3 separate regions of the Homo sapiens genome follow, and regions 1 and 2 are each linked to region 3. Evidence: promoter capture Hi-C in 16 types of primary human blood cells and fetal thymus (Javierre and others, 2016). All regions are on one chromosome and are shown on one strand. The core of a region is centred on a gene start or on the middle of the fragment in contact, and the rest is flanking DNA. Distances in the headings are between cores, read along the strand shown. Region 1 has its middle 88 kb from the start of MTDH. Region 2 overlaps LOC101927066 (a long non-coding RNA gene). Region 3 holds the start of CPQ (carboxypeptidase Q).

Evidence for each region. The method cuts DNA at HindIII sites, captures the fragments that hold promoters and counts their contacts. A CHiCAGO score of 5 or more calls a contact.
Region 1: a contact is called between a fragment that was not itself captured here and the fragment with the promoter of CPQ in region 3, in 3 of 17 cell types (M2 macrophages, M1 macrophages and M0 macrophages). The highest score is 10.1, in M2 macrophages.
Region 2: a fragment that was not itself captured here is called in contact with the fragment with the promoter of CPQ in region 3 in 1 of 17 cell types (M2 macrophages); the score reaches 5.1 in M2 macrophages.

What each region holds. Positions count from the first base shown.
Region 1 is chr8:97,554,393-97,557,212 of GRCh38, reverse strand. No RefSeq gene overlaps it. Among named protein-coding and RNA genes, the nearest start is that of MTDH, 88 kb to the left of the region's middle. The HindIII fragment of the contact is 6,759 bases long and covers 1-2,820 here.
Region 2 is chr8:97,255,232-97,257,974 of GRCh38, reverse strand. The region is part of intron 2 of LOC101927066 (a long non-coding RNA gene); the gene reads left to right. Among named protein-coding and RNA genes, the nearest start is that of TSPYL5, 21 kb to the left of the region's middle. The HindIII fragment of the contact is 1,457 bases long and covers 685-2,141 here.
Region 3 is chr8:96,643,889-96,646,588 of GRCh38, reverse strand. It overlaps CPQ (carboxypeptidase Q), which reads right to left and starts at 1,347. Exons shown (of 8, transcript NM_016134.4): 1 at 1,187-1,347. RefSeq lists a silencer at 923-1,472. The HindIII fragment of the contact is 6,363 bases long and covers 1-2,700 here.

The DNA.
Region 1 (2,820 bases), core at 76-2,575, 910 kb before region 3:
CCAATTGCCGGGGAGGAGGGGTGGCTCGCGCATGTCCGGCTGCAGGTGCCGAGCCCTGCCCTGCGGAGGCGGCTGAGGCCCGGCGAGAATTCAAGCGCGGCGCGGGCGGGCGGGCAGTACTGGGGGACCTGGCGCACCCTCTGCAGCTGCTGGCCCGGGTGCTAAGCCCCTTACTGCCCGCGGCCAGCAGCGCTGGCGGGCCGCTGTGAGTGTGGGGCCTGCGGATCCCGCGCCCACCCGGAACTCGCGCTGGCCCGCTAGCGCCCTGCGCAGCTCCGGTTCCCGCCCACTCCTCTCCCTCTACACCGGCCTGCAAGCAGAGGGAGCTGGCTCCGGCCTCAGCCTGCCCAGAGAGGGGCTCCTACAGTGCAGCGGCGGGCTGAAGGGCTCCTCAAGCGCGGCCAGAGTGGACGCCGAGGCCAAGGAGGCGCCCAGAGCGAGCGAGGGCTGCTAGCATGTTGTCACCTCTCAGTGGCATGATCTCCATTCACTGCAACCTCCACCTCTCGGGTTCAAGCGATTCTCCTGCCTCAGCCTCATGTAGCTGGGATTACAGGCACGAGCCACCACACCTGGCTAATTTGTTTTGAATTTTTAGTAGAGAGGGGGTTTCACCATGTTGGCCAGGCCAGTCTTCAACTCCTGGACTCAAGTAATCCACCTGCCTCAGCCTTCCAAAATGCTGGGATTACAGGCGTGAGCCATCACGTCCTGCCCTGACCTCTGCTTTCAGCCACAAACTTAGGTAAAAGAAAAGTAGCTTTTGCTCATAAAGTGATTGGAGACAGCCTGTTGTCCAACAGTGTCTCCCTTATTGGACCATGACTTTTCCCAGGCAGGGGCCATGTCTTATTTGTGTGTATATTTCCATCACCCAGCACAGCACTTGGCACGTGATACAGGTTCAGTATATATTTTCAAACAAATAAATTGAAGTGAAGAATTGAGTCAAGGAGACAAGACCTTTGAAGGCCAAAAGATCGAAGTTTGTGGTAATGAGACATCGAGCTCTGGTTTGAACTAAAATCCTTTGAAGTGAAAAACCTCTTGAGTGGTTGTGAAACTTGAACTTACCATAAATATCTCTTCGTATTTTTTGAGCCGATTAATCCATGGCTCCCATAAAATCTTCTGCACATTAAACAACAGGGTAAGAGCACCACGCCTTCCTCTGCCTCCACCGCCAACTTGGCGGAGACTAGACCCAAGGATGCAGGAGCCGTTCCTCTCCGTCTGAGCCTGCTGGGCTGAATGGGCATGAAGAAAGTTGGAGAACAGAACGTGCAAACCGGGTGAGTTGAAGTGGGTTCCTGCTCGCTGGAACTGGAGAGAAGTGTCATTTCCAGCAGGAGGGCTGCTTCCAGTACCTGGGGCTACAGAGAGGGACTGGGCCACATCTCTGATTAAGTTTCTCTTCTTTCCTTTCTGGGAGATGGATGTAAACAGTGACTGGTTTCTTTGGACAGAGGCTACCTGTGCTATTGAAGGGACAAAATCCACATGCCCTACATGCAAACTCACACTCCCATCTTTCCCTATTTATCTCGTAAGCTCACAGTTTGCTGGGCACGGTACAAGATGCAAATGAGGAATAATGAATGCTTATAGTGTGAAGGTGTTAGCTCCAGTTTTGCTCAATTCCCTGAGAATTTACATATTCTGGTCCACAATACCTTATCCAAAACCCTCAGGGCCATATACGTTTTGGAATTCAGATTATTTTGGGTTTCAGAAAGGCAAAACAGTGCACATGTTATATATTATGTAACACCCCCAGCACAGCCTGAGCAAGCACCTTTTCACCAAACACATTAATATTTGTGTAGAAAAACATGAATAGTCACACTCAGCAGGACCAATGACGACTGTTGGTGGTGTCATTCACCTCAGGTCAGGCTTTGCCACCAAATAAATTTTGATGCCAAATACATTAAAAGAAAAATAGGTTCTCAGAATTTTTTGGATTTCAGAAATGTGAGTAAGAGGTTCTGGGCCTGTATTCAGTCTTTCTTTCTTCTTTTTTTTTTTTGAAGACAGAGTCTTGTTCCGTCACCCAGGCTGGAGTGCAGTGGCACTCATAGCTCACTTCAACCTTGACCTCCTGGGCTCAAGTGGTCCTTTCACCTCAGCCTCCCAAAGTGCTGGGATTACAGGTGTGAGCCACTGCACCTGGTCAATGTTGTCTTTCTTAAAGTACTATCTCCCAATGATTCATTATTAATTTTCCTATAGAAGCACGTCTGTATAGTGCATCATGCTCTGTGTAGTAATCTCATTTTCAGACTTGAAACTGTTCCTCATGGAGTCATCAGTACACTGCCTTACACATAGTAGGGGCTTAGTAAGTGTTTGTTAACTAAACACACAACAGTCTTTCAAAATAAAAGTAATGATATATATTTATATTTGCAGTTGATGAAACCAAGGCCAGGAGGCTCCAGGATGTGGCACAGGGAAACAGGGTCTTTAACTTCTTTTTTTTTTTTTAGAGACGGAGTTTCACTCTTGTCGCCCAGGCTGGAGTGCAATGGCGCCATCTTGGCTCACTGCAACCTCTGCCTCCTGGGTTCAAGCGATTCTCTTGCCTCAGCCTCCCTAGTAGCTGGGATTACAGGCATGTGCCACCATGCCCGGCTAATTTTTGTATTATTAGTAGAGACTGGGTTTCACCATGTTGACCAGGCTGGTCTCGAGCTCCTGACCTCAGGTGATCTGCCCACCTCGACCTCCTAAAGTGCTGGGATTACAGGCGTGAGCCACTGTGCCCGGCCAGGGTCTTTAACTTCTAGTTGTTTGTCCTTGTCATTGCTGCTTGTTTGC
Region 2 (2,743 bases), core at 164-2,663, 610 kb before region 3:
TGGGAGCTGTGGAGCATACGCAGCCCTCAGAGGTGTCCTGTCATGGGTCTTTGTACCCCTGCCACTGTTAGCTGTTGCATTTGGGCTACCCGGAAAGGAAAGAGATGCCCTTGGGCAAAGCAGCTGTCTATGGCAAGCACACTCTGAAGGAGCTGACAGCTGGAGGCAAGTCCTTCCCTCCAGAAAGGGCATTTGGGCAGTGCATCTCCTGTCCTACCACTTTCTTCATCTGCAAAATGGGGATCATGATAGTACCAGCTTGCAGGGTTAAAGTAAGGTAGTGGGTGCAGGTGTCTTCCATAAACAACAGTTGTCTTTAAGGGCACTGTGGGTACTCTGTCTACCAGGCAGCTCTGGCTGTGGGAGCCCCTCCCAATAGAGCTGCCACCAGCCCTTTCTGATAGGACTAACTCCCCAGGAATGTCAGGGTGGTGACTCCGGAGCACTTACAATTGGACACTGTGAAGATGATCATTGTGTTGCATCACCACTGCCCTTCATTCAGTTGTTTCAGATTAAATTCATCATAACAAGAGGTCTCTGATCAAAAACATTGAACTTAAATACGGGGGGAACTCTGGAAAAAAAGGAATGCTGAAAGAAGCTGAGTTTCCTTTCATTCTGAGGACTCTGAATACATTTGAGACTTGCATCTTACTCTTCTAAAGCCATGCAGCCCAAGCTTTCTATTCCATGTTAGTCAGGATGTAGGAGTCATTTCAGACCAAGTCAGGTTGGGGTAGATGATTAGAATGATGCTTGTAGAGATTATCACAATAATGGCCCCCAATGAATCATACTTTCTGATACCATGCCCTTGTGTAGTGTTCTTCCACACTGACTCTGGGCCTAGCCATGTGTCCTGTTTTGGTCCATGTGACATCAGCTAACATAACCCAAGCAGAGACTTGGTAAGTGCTTGCTCACAGGGATTTGCTTGAAGCTCCAACTGGCCTTCTTGAGGATGAGAGACCAGGTGAAAGAGAGGACCTGCCCTCCCAGCCAATTCTCCTGCTGAATGGAGCCTAGGTGAAGCCAGCAGAGCCTCCCAGCTGTCCTACAGAGTCACGAGAAATAATAAATTGCTGTTATGATGATTTTTAAAATTGAGGTGAAATACACCATAACAGAAAATTCACTATTTTAAGGTATGCAATTCATGGCATTTAGTATCTTTATAATGTTGTGCAACCACCACCTCTTTCTAGTTCTAAAACGTTTTCATCACTCCAAAAGCAAACCCTGTATCCAGTAAGCAGTCACTTCTCATTCCCTGCCCCCTCTAACTCCTGGCAACCACCCATCTGCTTCCTGTCTCTATGGAGACACTTTTGTGACTGGCTTCCTTCACTTAGCATAATGTCTTCAGTGTTCATCCATGTTGTAGCATATATCGCTACTTCATTTCTTTTTGCACTCAAATACATGTATGCAATGTTCATAGAAGCACTATTCACTATAGCCAAAAGGTGAAAACAATCTAAATGTCCATTAACTGATGAACAGATAAGCAAAATGTGTTGTACCCATACAATTAAATATTATTGAGTGATAAATTGCTGTTATTTTAAGCCATCAGGTTTTGGGCTGGTTTGTTAACTGTAGTAATAGATAACAGAGAATTTTTAAGGTGGTTGGAGTAATAACAAGAGCTATCACATCTTACACTGCATGCAATGTACTATGTGAAGCACTTTGTGTGAATTCTGCTTTAATCCTCACAAGAACCCTGTGGTTTAGGTACTAATATTGACCCCAGTTCACAAATGGGAAAACTGAGAAATTAAATATTTGCCCAAGTTAACCCAGACAGTTCAATTCCAGAGCTCATGCCTTATTCACTCGCTGTACTACAATCCAGCCATAAATGAAAGGCCTACTCTGGAAGATCTAACTAAGGACATGAGTGTGTAGCTTTGCTGTGAAAGAGACACCATTCTCAGCTTTTTTATATAGTGAATATCACTGGTAGAAATGATCAACAGAATTTAAAGCCTTTAGTAGTTAAAATCTAATCTGTGCAGTCTGACTTGGGAATATTGAACTTTGTAGAACAATGTCTATATAGTAAGTTTTCAAGGGCAAAAGTTACAACCATAATATTTGATATAAATAAACCAATTGAGTAATGCATCAAAGCTTTATATAAAACTGACACAGGAAAAAATTAATCCCAATCAAATAACTTCTGTGAAATAAAATATGAATGAAAATGGGAAAAATTAAAGAGGATTTAACTAGGCTATTTTAAGAAGGTTGATCAAGGAGTCAAATGGACTTAATGGAGTTTTTTCCAGAAAATCCTTTCAGTACAAAAATGTATTCATTATGACATAATTTTGGTTTTAATGGTATTATTCTTAGGAGTCAAAATATCCTTAGGAGAGAACATCTTTCTGAGTCAAACATCTTTTATCTTGCATAAAGATTCTTTGGAGGGTGTAAAGTGTTATCAGAAGGTGAGTATGGGGTCACTCTGGGATGCCAAGACAGATTTGTAAGATTCCAGACTCTTTGGAGAATAAGTGCATTGGTATTTGGAGTCAGACCACGAGATGCTGGGCTTGACTTATGATGCAAGGTAAGGAGGTGAAGGCTGTCCTGTGGGGGTCAGGAATTCATCCCAGTGTAGGGGAGAGTTAGGTCCTGGTGTCCCTTTTGAGACACATGTTCTATGGCAGGGGGTAAAATGGCACATGGAGAAGCCACAAGAGTAATCTTGTGGCCTAATGGTTAGGAAACT
Region 3 (2,700 bases), core at 98-2,597:
TAAAGCTATGTGCTAAGCCTATTTGTTTACAAACAGATAAGCGTCTTTCTGGGCCTTATGTAGCCTTCTTCAGTCACCTGCAAATCAGCCAGCACCTGTCTCAGGAAAACAGACAAGATTCTTAACAACTCTGAATTCAAAAGAAAAGCCTGGTTTTACAAACAAGTCAGAGTCATATGGTTCTGCCTTCAGAGTCACCCTTATCTTTAAGAAATACATGAAATAATATTATAGTGACAATGATTCTTTAAACGTCCAAAGTAGAAGTGAACAAAACACAAGCAAGAAAAAACCTAGGCATATTTTGTTTTAAGCAAACACATATAGCCAAGTCCAACAAAAATGGAAATACCAGGGGGCGTTTCCAGAGACCATTTGAACAGCATAGAACTCTTTTTAAGTGGTCCCAATCAGAATGCCTCCATTTGCAAAAGTGCGACATTCACACAACTTTTTGGAAAGCTATCAAAAAACAGGAGTTGTAAGCCTGCGTCTCCACTGCTTCCACTTCATACATCTTTATTTTCACTCATGCACTGATTGATTCAGCTGTATCTCGTATGCACTCATTTATTCACTTACTCATTTGTTAATTCACTCAGTTCTACGGCATAGGTACTCATTCAATTACTTATTGAGTAGCTCTGAGTCCTAAGTCAGATGGGACTTTGCCCTCATGGAACTTCGATTCTAGGAGAGTCCAGTAGCAGAAACTAGACGCATCAAAAGCGAAAGTACACGGTAAAATGCGAAAGGAACCCCAAAAGAACTGCATAAGGCATATTGGAGGCTCAGGGGGACCAGGATTGTTTGCAGATGGGGGATGAAGGGGGCGGCTTGGGGCTGAGCCCTGGAGCTGAGGGGAAGTGAAACCGTGTTGGGAAGGACGGCTGAGGGCCGTGCTCGCTGCTGTCCCGCAGCACCCTCCACCACCCCCACGTCACAGCTTCCCCATTTCTAGGCTCGGTGACTCCACTGTCACCGAAGGGGCAGCCACAGGCTCCCAACCCGCCGCTCCCCAGCCAGGTCCTCCCGTCACGCCCCCGAATGAGCGATGCTGGAAGTCCGTCCCCCTCTGCCCCCGCCCCTGGCCTGCTCCAGCCTCAGCCCGCCCGACCCCCGCGGGTAGGAGCCAAGGCCTCGGCCCAGCCGCCCGCGGGCACTGCCAGTTCGGCTGCAAACACACCTGATAGGGCGGCTCTGACGGCGGCGACGGAGGCGGCTCCCAGGACTAAGCTCGCGGCCTAGCCTTACGGTGGCGGCGGCCACACCCCTGACTGGGCTGGGGCCCTCCGCGCCGCCCCGTGACTGCAGCCCTGCTTGCCGGCCAGGCCGCGGGGCCGAGAGGCGGGGCAAAGACCTGACTCGGGAAGCCGGGGCGGGCGCCGGGTTCGGGCTGGGGGCCACCTCCGGAACGCCTGGGGGGTTCTCACTCGCCCTCCAAGGGCGACCTCAGGGCCACAGATCGGCCGGAAGGCTTCTCAGCTTCTGGGCTGTGGCTCCTGTTAGAAAATTGAGTGTCGCCCTGGGTCCCGAGCCCCTAGGCCTGACTCCTTCGTGCAGGGGCGTCGCCTTCAGACTGGGTGGTGCGCAGGCCAGGGCCGCGTGCTTTTCAGAAGCGCAGCCTCAGGCGAGGCGGGCGGCAGGGGCCTGAGAAGGCTCATGGCTTGGCAGAAGGGTCCTGTGCTTCAGTGGGTGCCCGTGCAGGTGGAGAAGGACGGGGCTGCGAAGCTGAAAGGAAAACGTGAAAGGTTTTTGTGTGTCTCTGAGCCTGAGTAAAGGCCATGCTTTCTGAGCTGTCAAACGCCTCCCAAAGGGAAGAGATTATTAAACCGTTTTCCCACCCTGCCAGGTGTAGGATTGTTAGGCGGTGATGATGGAAGGCAGAGATGACCCGAACTGAGAGATCAGAAAAAGCGTTTTCTCTTTCGTTTGTGCCTGAATTATATGAGGGTGCCCAAGAAGAAAGGAGACTCATCTGATTACCCGGTGTGGCTTATCTCAACAAGTCACACGCATTCTGGTCACAGAGTATGTGCTCAGTGTTTTCAATGCTTTATGTTTTGATAAGTGCAAATTCCTTTGTTTAACGAAACTCTTATCAAATACAAACAGTTATCTTTGTGAAACACTGAGCAGTTCCAGTCTCTCCTCTTAACTAAAAAAACCAAACAGAACTTTTAATTAGAAAAGAAAAGAAAGAATAAGCACATGCCTACTGGGAAAAAAAAAATACCATAAAATGTGCAAAGTCCACTCACCTTCGGTTAACAGTCCCTCTAAACCTTACTAGTCCTGTTGCCCACTGAAACAAGTGTGAACTCTGAGGCATTGGAGGGTCCACATAAACATGGCCCTGGCCCACCTTTCCCGAATCATCTCTCGGATGCCATATCTAACCCCACTGAATTACTTTTTTCTCAAACTATCAAGGGTAAAAGACAAGTTTTTATTATTTCCAATCTGACATGGACCATTATTTCTGTAAAATACAAATCAAAACCTGCTAGCAAATAAGAAAAGAGACAAAAACTACAAGCCCAGTTTTTATTACAAGTGTACAATGAGTATGCCAAAAAGTATAAAATTAGTTTTTCAATTATTGGTTGTTGTTGTTGTTTTTATTTCTAAATGCTTACTCACAATTTCTATACTTACCTGTTCATGGAGCAGTAAAAAGCTGTTCACTGACTGGCGGTG